Regions from separate parts of the Homo sapiens genome. Here regions 1, 2, 4 and 5 are each linked to region 3. The links are contacts of gene promoters, found by promoter capture Hi-C in blood cells and fetal thymus (Javierre and others, 2016). All regions are on one chromosome and are shown on one strand. The core of a region is centred on a gene start or on the middle of the fragment in contact, and the rest is flanking DNA. Distances in the headings are between cores, read along the strand shown. Region 1 has its middle 5.7 kb from the start of CST9. Region 2 has its middle 43 kb from the start of LINC01427. Region 3 holds the start of THBD (thrombomodulin). Region 4 has its middle 7.9 kb from the start of CST3. Region 5 has its middle 67 kb from the start of LINC01427.

Evidence for each region. The method cuts DNA at HindIII sites, captures the fragments that hold promoters and counts their contacts. A CHiCAGO score of 5 or more calls a contact.
Region 1: a contact is called between a fragment that was not itself captured here and the fragment with the promoter of THBD in region 3, in 3 of 17 cell types (M0 macrophages, M1 macrophages and M2 macrophages). The highest score is 7.0, in M0 macrophages.
Region 2: a fragment that was not itself captured here is called in contact with the fragment with the promoter of THBD in region 3 in 1 of 17 cell types (endothelial precursors); the score reaches 5.2 in endothelial precursors.
Region 4: a fragment that was not itself captured here is called in contact with the fragment with the promoter of THBD in region 3 in 1 of 17 cell types (monocytes); the score reaches 6.0 in monocytes.
Region 5: a contact is called between a fragment that was not itself captured here and the fragment with the promoter of THBD in region 3, in 2 of 17 cell types (M2 macrophages and M1 macrophages). The highest score is 9.4, in M2 macrophages.

Annotation. Positions count from the first base shown.
Region 1 is chr20:23,610,244-23,612,943 of GRCh38, reverse strand. No RefSeq gene overlaps it. Among named protein-coding and RNA genes, the nearest start is that of CST9, 5.7 kb to the right of the region's middle. The HindIII fragment of the contact is 961 bases long and covers 939-1,899 here.
Region 2 is chr20:22,324,630-22,327,329 of GRCh38, reverse strand. No RefSeq gene overlaps it. Among named protein-coding and RNA genes, the nearest start is that of LINC01427, 43 kb to the right of the region's middle. The HindIII fragment of the contact is 2,086 bases long and covers 346-2,431 here.
Region 3 is chr20:23,048,327-23,051,026 of GRCh38, reverse strand. THBD (thrombomodulin) reads left to right here and starts at 1,355. Exons shown (of 1, transcript NM_000361.3): 1 at 1,355-2,700. The coding sequence starts at 1,523. The HindIII fragment of the contact is 6,749 bases long and covers 1-2,700 here.
Region 4 is chr20:23,628,710-23,631,409 of GRCh38, reverse strand. It overlaps a transcript of CST3 not described here. Among named protein-coding and RNA genes, the nearest start is that of CST3, 7.9 kb to the left of the region's middle. The HindIII fragment of the contact is 348 bases long and covers 1,152-1,499 here.
Region 5 is chr20:22,347,981-22,350,680 of GRCh38, reverse strand. No RefSeq gene overlaps it. Among named protein-coding and RNA genes, the nearest start is that of LINC01427, 67 kb to the right of the region's middle. The HindIII fragment of the contact is 3,014 bases long and covers 1-2,700 here.

The sequences.
Region 1 (2,700 bases), core at 170-2,669, 560 kb before region 3:
TATATATGGATGTTGGAGAAATAGATCCCAAATCTAATCCCTTAGCCTAAAATCACATGGATTGTGGTGAGGCTTAAGGAAGATATTAACGTGTCAAGAATCACTGATGTGTCTGGAAAAGTAAAGAAGGTGGAAAATAGACTGAATCGGTTTTTGTCCCCCAAAAGGAAGTATTATCTCTGGCATGGATTTACTGCTTAAGGTTTCAAAATAAGTGCCAGTGTTGGAGATTTGAGGTTGATCTCTAAATAACACTTATTGAAGAAGTGGAAAATTTGGCTGAATCAAAGGAAAACTATTGCAAGAAAGCCAAAAGGACTCTGAATGGAATCAGTTCCAGGAGAAAGCAGCCGTTGTCCATGCCTGGACAACCACTAAAGAAGGCAGAAAGAACACGTTTGTCAAATTGGCCAAGTCTAAAGAGAATGTTTTCAAAGAAGTAGAGGTAAACTTTGCCCAAAAGTGTCAAAATGAAAAGTATTGAGAACACTGTGATCAGTGTGCATGAAGTGGTCAGAGGCAAGACAGCCCCAAATACCCTCTACAGAAAGGCTCACAGTGACAAGGGGCCATTGTGACAGAAATTAGAGTGGTTGGAACAAAAGGTTTTGAGGGTCTCAGCTGATGATTACATTTGGCACTTATCCCTGATTTTATTTTAAAATAAAACTTGCTCCCAATAGAGAAGAAGAGGAGCCCGGATGCTGTTTTGACTTCAGAATGAGGATGGGGGATAGTGGGTCTTCTAACAGCAAACGGTCAAATCATACTGTAAGGGGTCACACAGTGTCACTGTATATGATCTCTCAGCTAAACTTGATCCAAAACCATAGGTGAGGAAAGGGGGCTTAGGAATACTGAGGTGCACCAGGTTTCCCAGCTACAAGGCAGAACACAAGGACGTGAGCCCAAGCATCTCAACACTTTAAAATGAAGCTTGGGAACGTGAGTTTGGTTGTCAGAGCCTTTCGAAGAGATAATCATTATATTTAATTATCCAGAAGATACTCTCTTGAGTTCTGATCCCAACCTGACTTGGACCAAAAGTCTAAACTCAAAGCCAAACAGTAAAATGCAATCCCATTTCCATGCCCTGTCTACACTGTCCCAGAGAACCTGGTAATTGCTGACAAGCCATAGAATCCTCTGCTCCTCCTTTTTGCCTGCCTACCCCTGGTGGGAGCTTGGACATTTGGGTCCCTCCTCATCTCCTCTGCCACTTGACTGCTGAGAAGGTTGTCATCAACAAGCCTGGCTCATGAGGGATGTTCCCCCCAGAACTGGTGATGAGAATGAGCAGCACAAACACCATCTCCTGAGGGCCTGGTCCTGCTGGGCCTCCTGCCAGTGCCTTCCATACATCTCCCCATTCATCTTCATGACAGCTCCATGAAGGAGAAATCACAAGAGTCCAATTGCACGGTTGTGGAAACAGAAGCTCACATAAAGTAGAAATGTGCCCCCAGGAAATGCAACTAGTAAAAGGTGCAAATGAGACCTGAACTCACATGTGCCCAACTCCAAAGACCTCCTCAACTACTGCTTTGCCTCCTTCCGTGGAGTCTATAAACCATACAAGTCATCTAAAGACTCCAGCCTCTACAAATGGAGCCAATAACAGTACTATTTCCTTGCAATCAGTCAAGATTGCCCCACTTATCCTGTCTCCAGTTCTGCACTCCCGCCTCTCAGTGATAGACACCTGGTTCCTCCCGTTACTCTTCAGGACAAGTGCTTGTCTGCATCAAAAAGGTAATTTCAACTTCCCAGGAAGACAAGCTGCCCGCAAGAACAAATCTCATGTTTCCAAAGAATGAAGGAAGGGCACGGTGAGCTTGCAGGGTGAGGTGCTTGTGACGATAACAGTAGCATCAATAATCATGGCCAATACATGAAGCTTTTCCGAAAAGCTGGGATCCAAAATCAGACTATATGCCCCAAAGAGAGGATGTTAGTGCAAAGCAGCAGCCCGATGATGGGAGGGTGTGGCAGGGAGTCAGGGGCTAGAACCAGGGAGCAGACCCATCTATTCTAGCAGGTAGGGCCCAGGAAGTGTGCCTAGGTCTGGGAAGTGCCCAAGAATTTTTCTTCCTTTCCTGGCCAAGATCAAACAATGACCTTCTTAGCTCAGGCCTGTGCCTCCTTCATACAGCCAGTACAATAGAAAAGAGGCTCAAAGGCAACCAGCCTTTTGGGGAAAGGGGACTACGATAGAAATGCTGTTGGAATCAGAGGGTGGAGAATGAACTGCTCCATCGTCAATGCTGGAAAAGCCAGCTGTGCACGCAGGTGGTGGGGCAGACGATCGATCCTGGGATTCCAACCTCACACCACACACACTTAGCCTCCAGTTGGATCGCACACATAAATGTGAAAAGCAAAAGAAAGAACATGGTGAAACAGAACATAGAAGAGCATAGGAAAGGATTGTTGAAATGAAAATTACAAAAGCACATACCCTAAACAAAACATTGATACATTAAACCGTCTTCAATTTTTAAGAAAAATCTATATGGTGAAAGAAATCAGGTTGCACGTGGTGGCTCATGCCTGTAATCCTCGTACTTTGGGAGGCCAAGGAGAGAGGATCACTTGAGCCCAGGAGTTCAAGACCAGCCTAAGCAACATAGTGAGACCTCCGTCTCAAAAAAGAATAAAGAAAAGAAAATCATCAGCACAGCTATCCCTAATAAAACTGAA
Region 2 (2,700 bases), core at 139-2,638, 720 kb after region 3:
CTGCAGGTACCCTCAAATCACATCCAGTCCATCTGGTTCCCACCCAGACCAACTGAACCCAGTCTCCCGGGGTAGGCTCTGGAGCCTGCAGGGTAATTCATACACAGGTGATTTCAATGAGCTGCCAGGGTTAGAAACCTCAGGACTAGTCCGTGTCCTCATTTTAGGTATGAAGAGATAGAAGCTCAGAGAGCTGAGGGTTCCATGGCAATAACGGTGGAGGTAGGAATTGAGAGCAGGAGCCTAGTCCACAATTTAGTGCCCTTTCTACCTCGCCTGACATACCAATATCAATGCCAAGTCAGTTACTGCCATCACAATACCAATAGAACTATATCAAAAGCTTACAGAGGCATAGAACATTTAAGGCACTCATGAATTTTGCAAGATCTCAGTAGAATTCAAAATAATAATGACAATGTTATGGCCCAATATGACCTAATACTGGAGATAATATAATATACAATAAGATCAAAGAATTCTAAGAACAGAATGGAACAACCACAAAAAAAGATAAAGCCCAGGAACATCTTCAAGGTAGGCATAATCATCAACCAGCCAGTCTCCATCTTTGATAAGCCAGGGTGGAGATGTAATTATGTGCAGAAGAAAGGATCTGGTCCATGCATAAGTAGAATCAGCCTGGTGGTAGAATGGGTAGAACAGGGCTTCCCTTGAAATGGAGTTATTTATGTTTTCAGTTTATTTATCATGATTTAAATGTAGTCCTGTTGCAAGAAAGAATTCATTTTTTAAAAATAATTTAAGATTCCTTTGACCTCAGGTAAGGGTTTCTTATAGAAAAATACTGCACATTCTGTTTTATTCATATGAAGCAAGTGCAAATTTCCAAAGTGTTTCCAATTTATTTGGGACTTTTTCTGAAAGAAAAGTTAATTGACTGAAGGGCAAGTTGTTGCATGAACCTCTCTGTAGACTCCACTGGGCCACATGGCTTTGCATGTTCCATAGCAGCCAACCAAGCCTGGCTTCTAATATCCATGTAGAGGGGTTAGTTGTCCCCCACACTGTGATATATGAGGAAAGATGAAAATATACATTTACTCAGCTCTTCCTTGTCAGACATTTACATATAAGTGACTTTTGTTCACACACACATTCACTCACTTATCCACCATTAGTTTTATTAAACAATTTTTTTTTGAGAATCTATGATGTAGAAACATTGTGTGAAAATAATACAGGCAAGACCCCCATCCCCACCTTGCTTATAAACTTACACTAGTAATGATTTACCACACCTCTGCTAAGTATTACCAGGAGCAGTGCAGGGTGCCATGGGAGCAGGTAACCAGGAGGCCTGGCCCACTGCAGGGATCAGGGGAAACTGCATGGAGGTGAGGGATTTGCAATAAACTGAAAGATGGACAGAATTAACTGGGTGGAGAGTAGAGTGGGTGCTGTTGGTTTGTAAGAGCACTCCTTAGGAACGGTGATGATGGTCTCTTCAGGAACCCTGCTCCCGCCATCTGGTTTCCCCATGAGAACCATATTTCTATGACCATCTTGACCACTGAGTGATAATCTTAGGAATTCTAGGGGTTAGAAGGGAACTGTTCTCAAATATATACCTCATTTTTCCCATTTATAATCTTGCTATCACAGCTACGCACATCAAGAGACTTCCAGTTTCTTGGATGGAATGCTTTGAATTGATTTACTTGCTTGTGGAAAGGTGGTATAGAGAACAACTTAATATTTCTCAACTAGACAAGATTCCATTTGTTCCAGTCTGTCCTTACATGTTGTATAAATGTAATACTAAATGGCCTGACTTTTAAAGTTTTATGAAGGAGGGGGAAAGTATCACTATGATAGTTAACACCACCTGTTTACTCAGGCATTATATTAACAGGCAACTCTTAGCCTCCGATGAACATGAAGGTATCTGATTAACTTGGGCATTGACCAAACCTCCTAGGACAGATTTGGGAAATTCAGTTGTAGACAACTGGCTTTGAGAATAACTGATTACCTGTAGACCTATTTGGAATAATCTTTCTTGGTGTGATATCCTAAGGATCCAGACAAGACTTGGTAAATTTGGGTGCCATCAAAGTTACAAAATCAATGAATCCAAATTTTGTGAGGCTTATTATAATCTGCCTAATGCTTCCATCCAGTTCCCCCCTGTGGGTAGAGTCCATGAAGCAGAGTCTACTTTATCAATGTTCGCCTGGGCACAAGTGCCAGTGTGGATGTGGGTGACTTTGAGATTTATGTGTCTGTGAGCTGAATAAATGTGGGAAAAGGCAGGAGCAAGGTGTTGAACACAGGGGCCCCCATCACTATTACTTAGGAGTGGGTGCTCTCACAAACGAACACCATCCACTCCACAGCACCACTAAGGCCATACCCGACCAATGCACCAATTTCTGGGGCATCAAGGTTTCAGGTCTTGATGAAAGCTTTAGAATCACCTCTTTTTAATTCAGGTGACTGATGGATTCTCTAGCTTCAAGAGAAGTCCAATTTCCAGTTGGTTAACTTGAGATAGAAAAGTGTGTTATTCTAACCTTACCCCAAGGTCCTGAACACACAAGTCCTTCTTTCTCCTTTCTGAATCATAAATGTGCTCCACACCCTCAATTCTCATATGAGAGATCCATGACTGTGCAGCCACCCATAACATAATCTTGTTCCAAATCCACAGCTGCTTTTGTTCTTGGCAAAACTAAG
Region 3 (2,700 bases), core at 106-2,605:
AGAAGGAGGACTCTGTGCTCCTACACCTTAACCCTTTTTAGCCCGAAACTTCTCCAACTTCCTTGGCTTTGTTTAGAGCTCGACAGCGCCGCCCCCTGGCGCTCGTTGTGAGGACAGTAGAGGAGAGAGGCAAGGGTGTTTTTAAACAGTTTGCCTCTCACCATTATGGGGGCGACCCGAGGGGGAGACCCACTCTTCCGCATTCCCGGTAAGTGAACCACCGGAAGAGGTCGAAAGTGACGGATTCCCATGTCCTCCTCCAGCCCCCCCCCCACCCTGCCCATCCACAGGACGGTGGCTCTTCAGTGCCCTTTGCCGAGCAAGTGGCGTTTCTATGCACGTGGGTATCAATTCGGACTCTGGACGAAATGGAAACCTCCTTAGCCGACCCGGGTGGGATCAGCTGGGATCCTGCGCGCTCCCCTGGGGGGTTGCCAGCCACTCTGTTGGGGTGCAAGAAGCACCATCCTTCGGAAGCTGGGCCGAAACTGGCCAGGCTGACTCGCTCCCACGCGCCCGCCCCTACCCGGCGCCGCAGCAATTCACCTGCCACCGCCTCTGAGCCGGGTCCGGACTTCGGCGCCCTGACAGTGTCCCCGCGACTTCCCCACCCGATGAGATGGGGTCTGGCGTTGGCCAGTGCGTGTCCAGGGACTCGCGGGTCCCTGGCCAGCCATGGGGCAGAGGGCGCTGGTGTTAGGCCAGTCTTCCCCACCCTGCCCCGTCACCCCAGCCACACCCACTGTCCTGTGAGGCCAAGCGCGCTCCGCTGGTTTCCTGAGCCAGGCACCTTGGCCGCGGACAGGATCCAGCTGTCTCTCCTTGCGATCCTGTCTTCGGGGAAGTCCACGTCCTAGGCAGGTCCTCCCAAAGTGCCCTTGGTGCCGATCACCCCTCCCAGCGTCTTGCAGGTCCTGTGCACCACCTCCCCCACTCCCCATTCAAAGCCCTCTTCTCTGAAGTCTCCGGTTCCCAGAGCTCTTGCAATCCAGGCTTTCCTTGGAAGTGGCTGTAACATGTATGAAAAGAAAGAAAGGAGGACCAAGAGATGAAAGAGGGCTGCACGCGTGGGGGCCCGAGTGGTGGGCGGGGACAGTCGTCTTGTTACAGGGGTGCTGGCCTTCCCTGGCGCCTGCCCCTGTCGGCCCCGCCCGAGAACCTCCCTGCGCCAGGGCAGGGTTTACTCATCCCGGCGAGGTGATCCCATGCGCGAGGGCGGGCGCAAGGGCGGCCAGAGAACCCAGCAATCCGAGTATGCGGCATCAGCCCTTCCCACCAGGCACTTCCTTCCTTTTCCCGAACGTCCAGGGAGGGAGGGCCGGGCACTTATAAACTCGAGCCCTGGCCGATCCGCATGTCAGAGGCTGCCTCGCAGGGGCTGCGCGCAGCGGCAAGAAGTGTCTGGGCTGGGACGGACAGGAGAGGCTGTCGCCATCGGCGTCCTGTGCCCCTCTGCTCCGGCACGGCCCTGTCGCAGTGCCCGCGCTTTCCCCGGCGCCTGCACGCGGCGCGCCTGGGTAACATGCTTGGGGTCCTGGTCCTTGGCGCGCTGGCCCTGGCCGGCCTGGGGTTCCCCGCACCCGCAGAGCCGCAGCCGGGTGGCAGCCAGTGCGTCGAGCACGACTGCTTCGCGCTCTACCCGGGCCCCGCGACCTTCCTCAATGCCAGTCAGATCTGCGACGGACTGCGGGGCCACCTAATGACAGTGCGCTCCTCGGTGGCTGCCGATGTCATTTCCTTGCTACTGAACGGCGACGGCGGCGTTGGCCGCCGGCGCCTCTGGATCGGCCTGCAGCTGCCACCCGGCTGCGGCGACCCCAAGCGCCTCGGGCCCCTGCGCGGCTTCCAGTGGGTTACGGGAGACAACAACACCAGCTATAGCAGGTGGGCACGGCTCGACCTCAATGGGGCTCCCCTCTGCGGCCCGTTGTGCGTCGCTGTCTCCGCTGCTGAGGCCACTGTGCCCAGCGAGCCGATCTGGGAGGAGCAGCAGTGCGAAGTGAAGGCCGATGGCTTCCTCTGCGAGTTCCACTTCCCAGCCACCTGCAGGCCACTGGCTGTGGAGCCCGGCGCCGCGGCTGCCGCCGTCTCGATCACCTACGGCACCCCGTTCGCGGCCCGCGGAGCGGACTTCCAGGCGCTGCCGGTGGGCAGCTCCGCCGCGGTGGCTCCCCTCGGCTTACAGCTAATGTGCACCGCGCCGCCCGGAGCGGTCCAGGGGCACTGGGCCAGGGAGGCGCCGGGCGCTTGGGACTGCAGCGTGGAGAACGGCGGCTGCGAGCACGCGTGCAATGCGATCCCTGGGGCTCCCCGCTGCCAGTGCCCAGCCGGCGCCGCCCTGCAGGCAGACGGGCGCTCCTGCACCGCATCCGCGACGCAGTCCTGCAACGACCTCTGCGAGCACTTCTGCGTTCCCAACCCCGACCAGCCGGGCTCCTACTCGTGCATGTGCGAGACCGGCTACCGGCTGGCGGCCGACCAACACCGGTGCGAGGACGTGGATGACTGCATACTGGAGCCCAGTCCGTGTCCGCAGCGCTGTGTCAACACACAGGGTGGCTTCGAGTGCCACTGCTACCCTAACTACGACCTGGTGGACGGCGAGTGTGTGGAGCCCGTGGACCCGTGCTTCAGAGCCAACTGCGAGTACCAGTGCCAGCCCCTGAACCAAACTAGCTACCTCTGCGTCTGCGCCGAGGG
Region 4 (2,700 bases), core at 76-2,575, 580 kb before region 3:
TCAGAAGGAATTTACCTAAGGGCTGGATTTACAGTAAACAGCAGATGAAATAGAAATCTTAGAAGCATTGATGGGACTGAGGCTCAGCATTGGCATCCAAGATGGAGTCTCCACAGGAGACCGCCCAGAGCCGCTCCAGCTGACACCCACAGCAGATTTCCATAACCATAGGTCAGTTTCAGGATCTCAGTCCTAAATCTGGCTTGTTCTTTTCCATTTTTTTAATTACTCCATTTTAAATATAATATTTTTGTATCTTTTAGGTAATATTTTTATATCTTTATTCTTTATTCCCCCAAAATTTTGTTTTCTAAATGTATTTCTTCCTCCAAATGAAACTGTTTTTTCAGGTTCAATAAGTAGAAATATTATGTTTTTTTAGGAAAAAAAATTGACAACGTTTAACATTTGAGCCTTTCATTTTAGAATACCATGCATCTTGCAATACCTTCCTGCTTTTCTGATGGTATTCAGTAGAATAAATTTTATGCATCTTTCATATTTTCTGTGAAATTTATTCCTGGATATTTTATATTTTGGTCAGGGATATTTCCAAGTATTGTACCTCTAGTCTTTACTGATAGACTAGTTAATAGTTCAATAGAAGACTATTGAGTTTGCCTTTTTTTTTTTTTTTAACTCTGCCTTGGTGGTTTATTATTTATGGACTTAGAGGCTTGGGATGTTGCCACCCATGTGGCTGTGAGAGACAGAGGAGAGCTGGCTTATGATTGGCTGACGGGAGTGACCTTGGACTAGGCCACAAGCCTCCCTAAAAGATGTAGAGAGAGCAAATCGCCAGCCCTGTCCCATAACTCCAGGGCGAAGCTGGAGAGACGAGGCCCAGGAAGACAGCAGCTAGTCACCCCTTCCTCTCCTTATGCTCTGCTGTGCTGTCTGAGTTCACTGCTCAAAGACACAACACTGAGAAGCCATGAACACAATGGTGACTAAAATAGGGAACAGACATTCCTTTAATTACCCATACCTGCTCTCACCCTTGGTGCTGGGATGCCAAGTGGGTCACTTCCAAATCCTGTCACCTGAGGCTTATGGGGTCGAGTCAGATGTGCTCAGGCCACTGTGACATCAGCTGGGGCTCTGGCTCCCTTGAGACCAGGTCAGGCTCATCTGAACTCTAGTCTCAAGCTTGGCTGTACATGGCGTCACTGGGGAGCCTGGCTGCACATGGCAATCCCATGATCCCAGTCGGAAAAGTTGATCGTGTTCTGGGATGGGACGTGGACATTGGATGTTTAAATACTCCTCCCATTGCTTCCCCAAGGAACCACTGGACTATAACTCAATTAGAGTCCTGGTCAAAGTCCAGTTGCTCCTAAAACATCTGCAAATTGCAGCAGGTAAAGATAGTCTCATGGTCACATCTGCCTGTGGACACACTTTCCGTGCCAGGTATCTCTGCAAACGTGTAGCCCTTGATTTCCAGTAAATGAAACTCAACAAAGCAAAAGCAAACGGAAATTCCTTCCACCAAAGCTTTGTTTGGGGCAATGAAATTTGTCGGTGATTTCAGGAAATCACCTCCTGCCCTGTGGAACAGTAACCCCCACTTCCTCAAACCCAGCACTGGGTATTTCTGTCCTTGAAATGCCCTTGGCTTCCCTCCCAAAGGTAGTTGCCACTTGACCTTCACATTCCACCCCCTCCCCCCCCCACCAGTCACTGGCCTGATTGTTCCCCTGCCTGCTCTTCGCCGTGGCATTCCCCATCTGTCCACGCATCCTCTCCACTGAGTCCCTCAGCAAGTCCAAAGGCTCCTTTGTGGGGTAGAACCACTCAGCTCTTTGTAGACTTCCCCACACCCATCAAGGTGCTTATAAACCAAAGGCCTTCCTAGTGAACAGGACCACCTTCTTTGTGAGGGACTTGAGATCACTAATAGCAACAGTTATTTATTTATCTATTTATTTTACCCAAATCCAGGACCCTGATGAAAAGACTGAGGAAAATGCTGCCTTTCCTGAATGGCTACCAGGCAGGGAATGATGCTGGGAAGTGTTTACCCCACAGGCTCTGTGCCTTCTCTGACTGGGCAGCTCATGCTGTATGCATGGAGGCATCATTACCAAACACACCTCTGAGGCCAGCGGCCAGCGTCTGACTCACAAGCCATGACTGCCCCACCTTCTTACAACAACAATAGCAGTTTCCCCGTGAGGATTCACCCCTCCTCCCCTCTCACTCCGCCTTTTTCCAGGGAAGCTGACTCTACCCTTTGGACCACAGCTTGGAGCACTTGACCCTGGCTAAGCTGGTCAGGGCAGCGGGTCTCCCTCCCCTGAAGCCTCATGATTGGCATGAGGACAACACGTGACCTATGTGTGGCTGCCCAGGACCCACATAGGCTTAACGGTGGGATTTTGTTTGACTGTGTGATAAGTGGGTTCTTCCTTCCCTGCTGAGTGTGAAGATAAAAAAGACTTGAGGTCTGGGGCCCACTTGGAGCCTGTTTGAGAATGAAGCCAAGTTATGGGAAGCAACAAAACTGAAGAGACAGCAAGGAAACCAGGCCTGGTGGTGCACTCCCAGCTATTCTGGAGGCTGACGCGGGAGGACTGCGTGAGCTCAGCAGTTTGAGGCTGCAATGAGCCATGATTTCACTACTGAACTCCAGCCTGGGCAAAAGAGCGAGACCCTGTGTCTCAGAAAAAGAGAGAGAGAAACAGAGAGCAAGGAGCA
Region 5 (2,700 bases), core at 44-2,543, 700 kb after region 3:
CACCTGGGCAGCTCACTCTGTCCTCCGAGCGGCCTCTTCCTCTGTGTTCTGGCCAGACTCTAAGACCAAGCATTCGTCATTGGACAACACTTCTTTTCTGAGGATACAAGGAATAGAAATGATAAGATTTGCAATGTTCATCCATCCTTTCAGTCAACAGCCCAGCCATTTCACTGGCTATGCAAAGAGGCAGAAATATCGCTGAATGGTGAAAAACAGCTCCCCCATATTCAGCAGTGTCTGCTCTTCATGGCTCTGAACCATAGGATGGAGAGGCAAGGGTGAGCAACGGAGTCTTTATCCCTCCCCTCATGGAGTTTACAGAAAAAAGTTCTCCCTGTCGCTGTTCAGTCTGTGAATAGTAACCACTGCCTCTTCTGGAAGCTAAATAATTTACTCCTTTTGACCTTCACATAGAAATCTCTTCCAGCAAATCCCTTAGAATTCCATAAAAGAAACTTTATGAGTGAAATCCATCCAATAAATTCTCAATGAGCCAGTCATGGAATCATGAAACCGCTTAGGTGCCCAGCTTCCTTCTCTGCAGAGGAAAAGAAGGTTTCCTTGTGCTTGTCCCTTCCTTGGGAAGCCCAGCTCCTAGTGAGTGGGCAATCCGTTGCCAGCCCAAGCCAACACTCAGGGTACAGCCTGATTTCCACTCCCTTGAAACATAAACCTCTCTGTTCAGCAGCAGCTTCTGGCTCCAGAGTCTTTTTATTTCTCCAAACTGCTGCCTCTGTTTGGATGAAATAGCATTTTAACACATCTGAATTTTCTGTTTGAGGTATATTTTCAGACATGGAATAAAAAAAAAAAACACTTCCCTGCTCAATATATTTTTCTCAGAGTCATTTCGAAGATAGTAAGACAGATGTATTTTTTATGCCAAAAATAATTATCTCTTCCTATAAATTTTTTGGGACTGGATTTCAGGGTCTTAATAGCTTTCTTGGGATCCTTTGTATTTAGAGAATTTCTTCATGGTGACATTCCAAGTTAGTTTTTAAATCTATCAGCTATAGCAGAGGTGGAAAAATTGTGGCCCCTGGTGTAACTAAAGTTTCACTGGAACACATCCATGTATTCAGTTATAGATTGTCTATTGCTACCTTTCTGCTACAACAGCAGAGTTGAGCGGTTGGGACACAGACAGTATGACCCACAGAACCTAACAATTTCCTCTTTGGCCCTTTACAGAAAACATCTGCCGACCCATGTTGTGTAGCCGAAAAGCCAACCTCCCATTCCCTGCGTATACCATGTTCTCATTCTCACACTAAGTTTTCCACATTCATTTACTGTTCTTTTCAGCTCTTTTTTCTTATTCATCCTGGAGCTTTGGTTCATGATATTCTAAACACGGAGCCTCCTGCCTTTCCCAAAATGATTACTGATTCTACCCCAGCCTTCAAATTCAACTTATTGATGACTCTGCAGTGATGGAAGTAGTATGAGAAACCTACAGTCCCCAACCCCGTGCTCCACACTGGCTGTATTTTCTTGCCCAGAATATGAATATATTTTTAGCATATCTATGCCTTAGAATCTTTCCAGATTAACACATTCTTTAATCACTATCTCACGAATTTAATTTTCCATCTTGCCCTGTGCTAGATGCATTTCTAGGTGTTTTATGCTCCAAACACAGTTTATCATCAGTGCCTCCATGGCACTCCAAAGTTGGATTATTAAGTCCACTCTGTAGATGCCAGACTGAGGTGCAGGGGGTTAGGTAATTTGCTCAAGTTTACAAAGCTAGTAATTGGTGGAGCCAGAATTTAAAGTCACTCTTGCTCCCAGTTGCCTACAAAAAATCTTCATTACATTGCATTGCCAGAAAACACTAAAGAGTAAATTATTTTTACTATTCTAGTGGAAATACTTCTAAAATATTCTACATACTTCTCTGCCATTTCAATTAGATCATATTGAACATAAGTTAACCTCTTCAGGACTAGTTAATATCATAGCTATTATAAATGTTATAGTGGTATAGAAGCATTTGAATCTACAAAGTGACTTACTGGCTGCATAAACTTAGGCAACTAACAGCCTCTCTGAGGTTCAGCTGCCTCATCTGCACAGTGAAGTTAGTCATATACTCACAAAAGATAACATAAAATGCCATGAATGAATCAGGCACAGAGGAAGGATGCACTAGGTGGTTATTATTATTAGATTATTGGATTATTGAGGATACTCTTTAACTTGGCTGCCTGAAGACCATTTAGACTTACTTCCTCAGTGCTTAGAACTACTGCCAAGAACATCAAACAAGTTTAAGTGATAAACTGATATTTGCACTCCTGCGGCCTATCTCTGGACTAGATTGTGTCTTGTTGGAGTTCAGTGCCTATGATCTGTATATTTTCTGCTGCAGCTGGTATCTCTAGTACCGAATATTGTTTCATGAGGATTTACTCTGGCTGTTGATAGAGACAGAAAGTCTTGTCTTTAGCCCTGGCTGTCACGTGGACAACAGGCATAGATAACAACAGTCAGTCCCAGTGTCTAGCCAGCCTCAGCTCTCCATGGGACTGCCTGGGAAATAAGCAAATACCCATAATTTTAATAACACCCGAGTTCATCAGAAAAGTGTGAAAGGACCAGCATCTTTGCATATTGATACAGTTTCATGTGGCCTCTCCAGCAGAGAGGTAGGTCCAGGGCCACTCTGTGGATACTCTTCCTTAAGGGTGT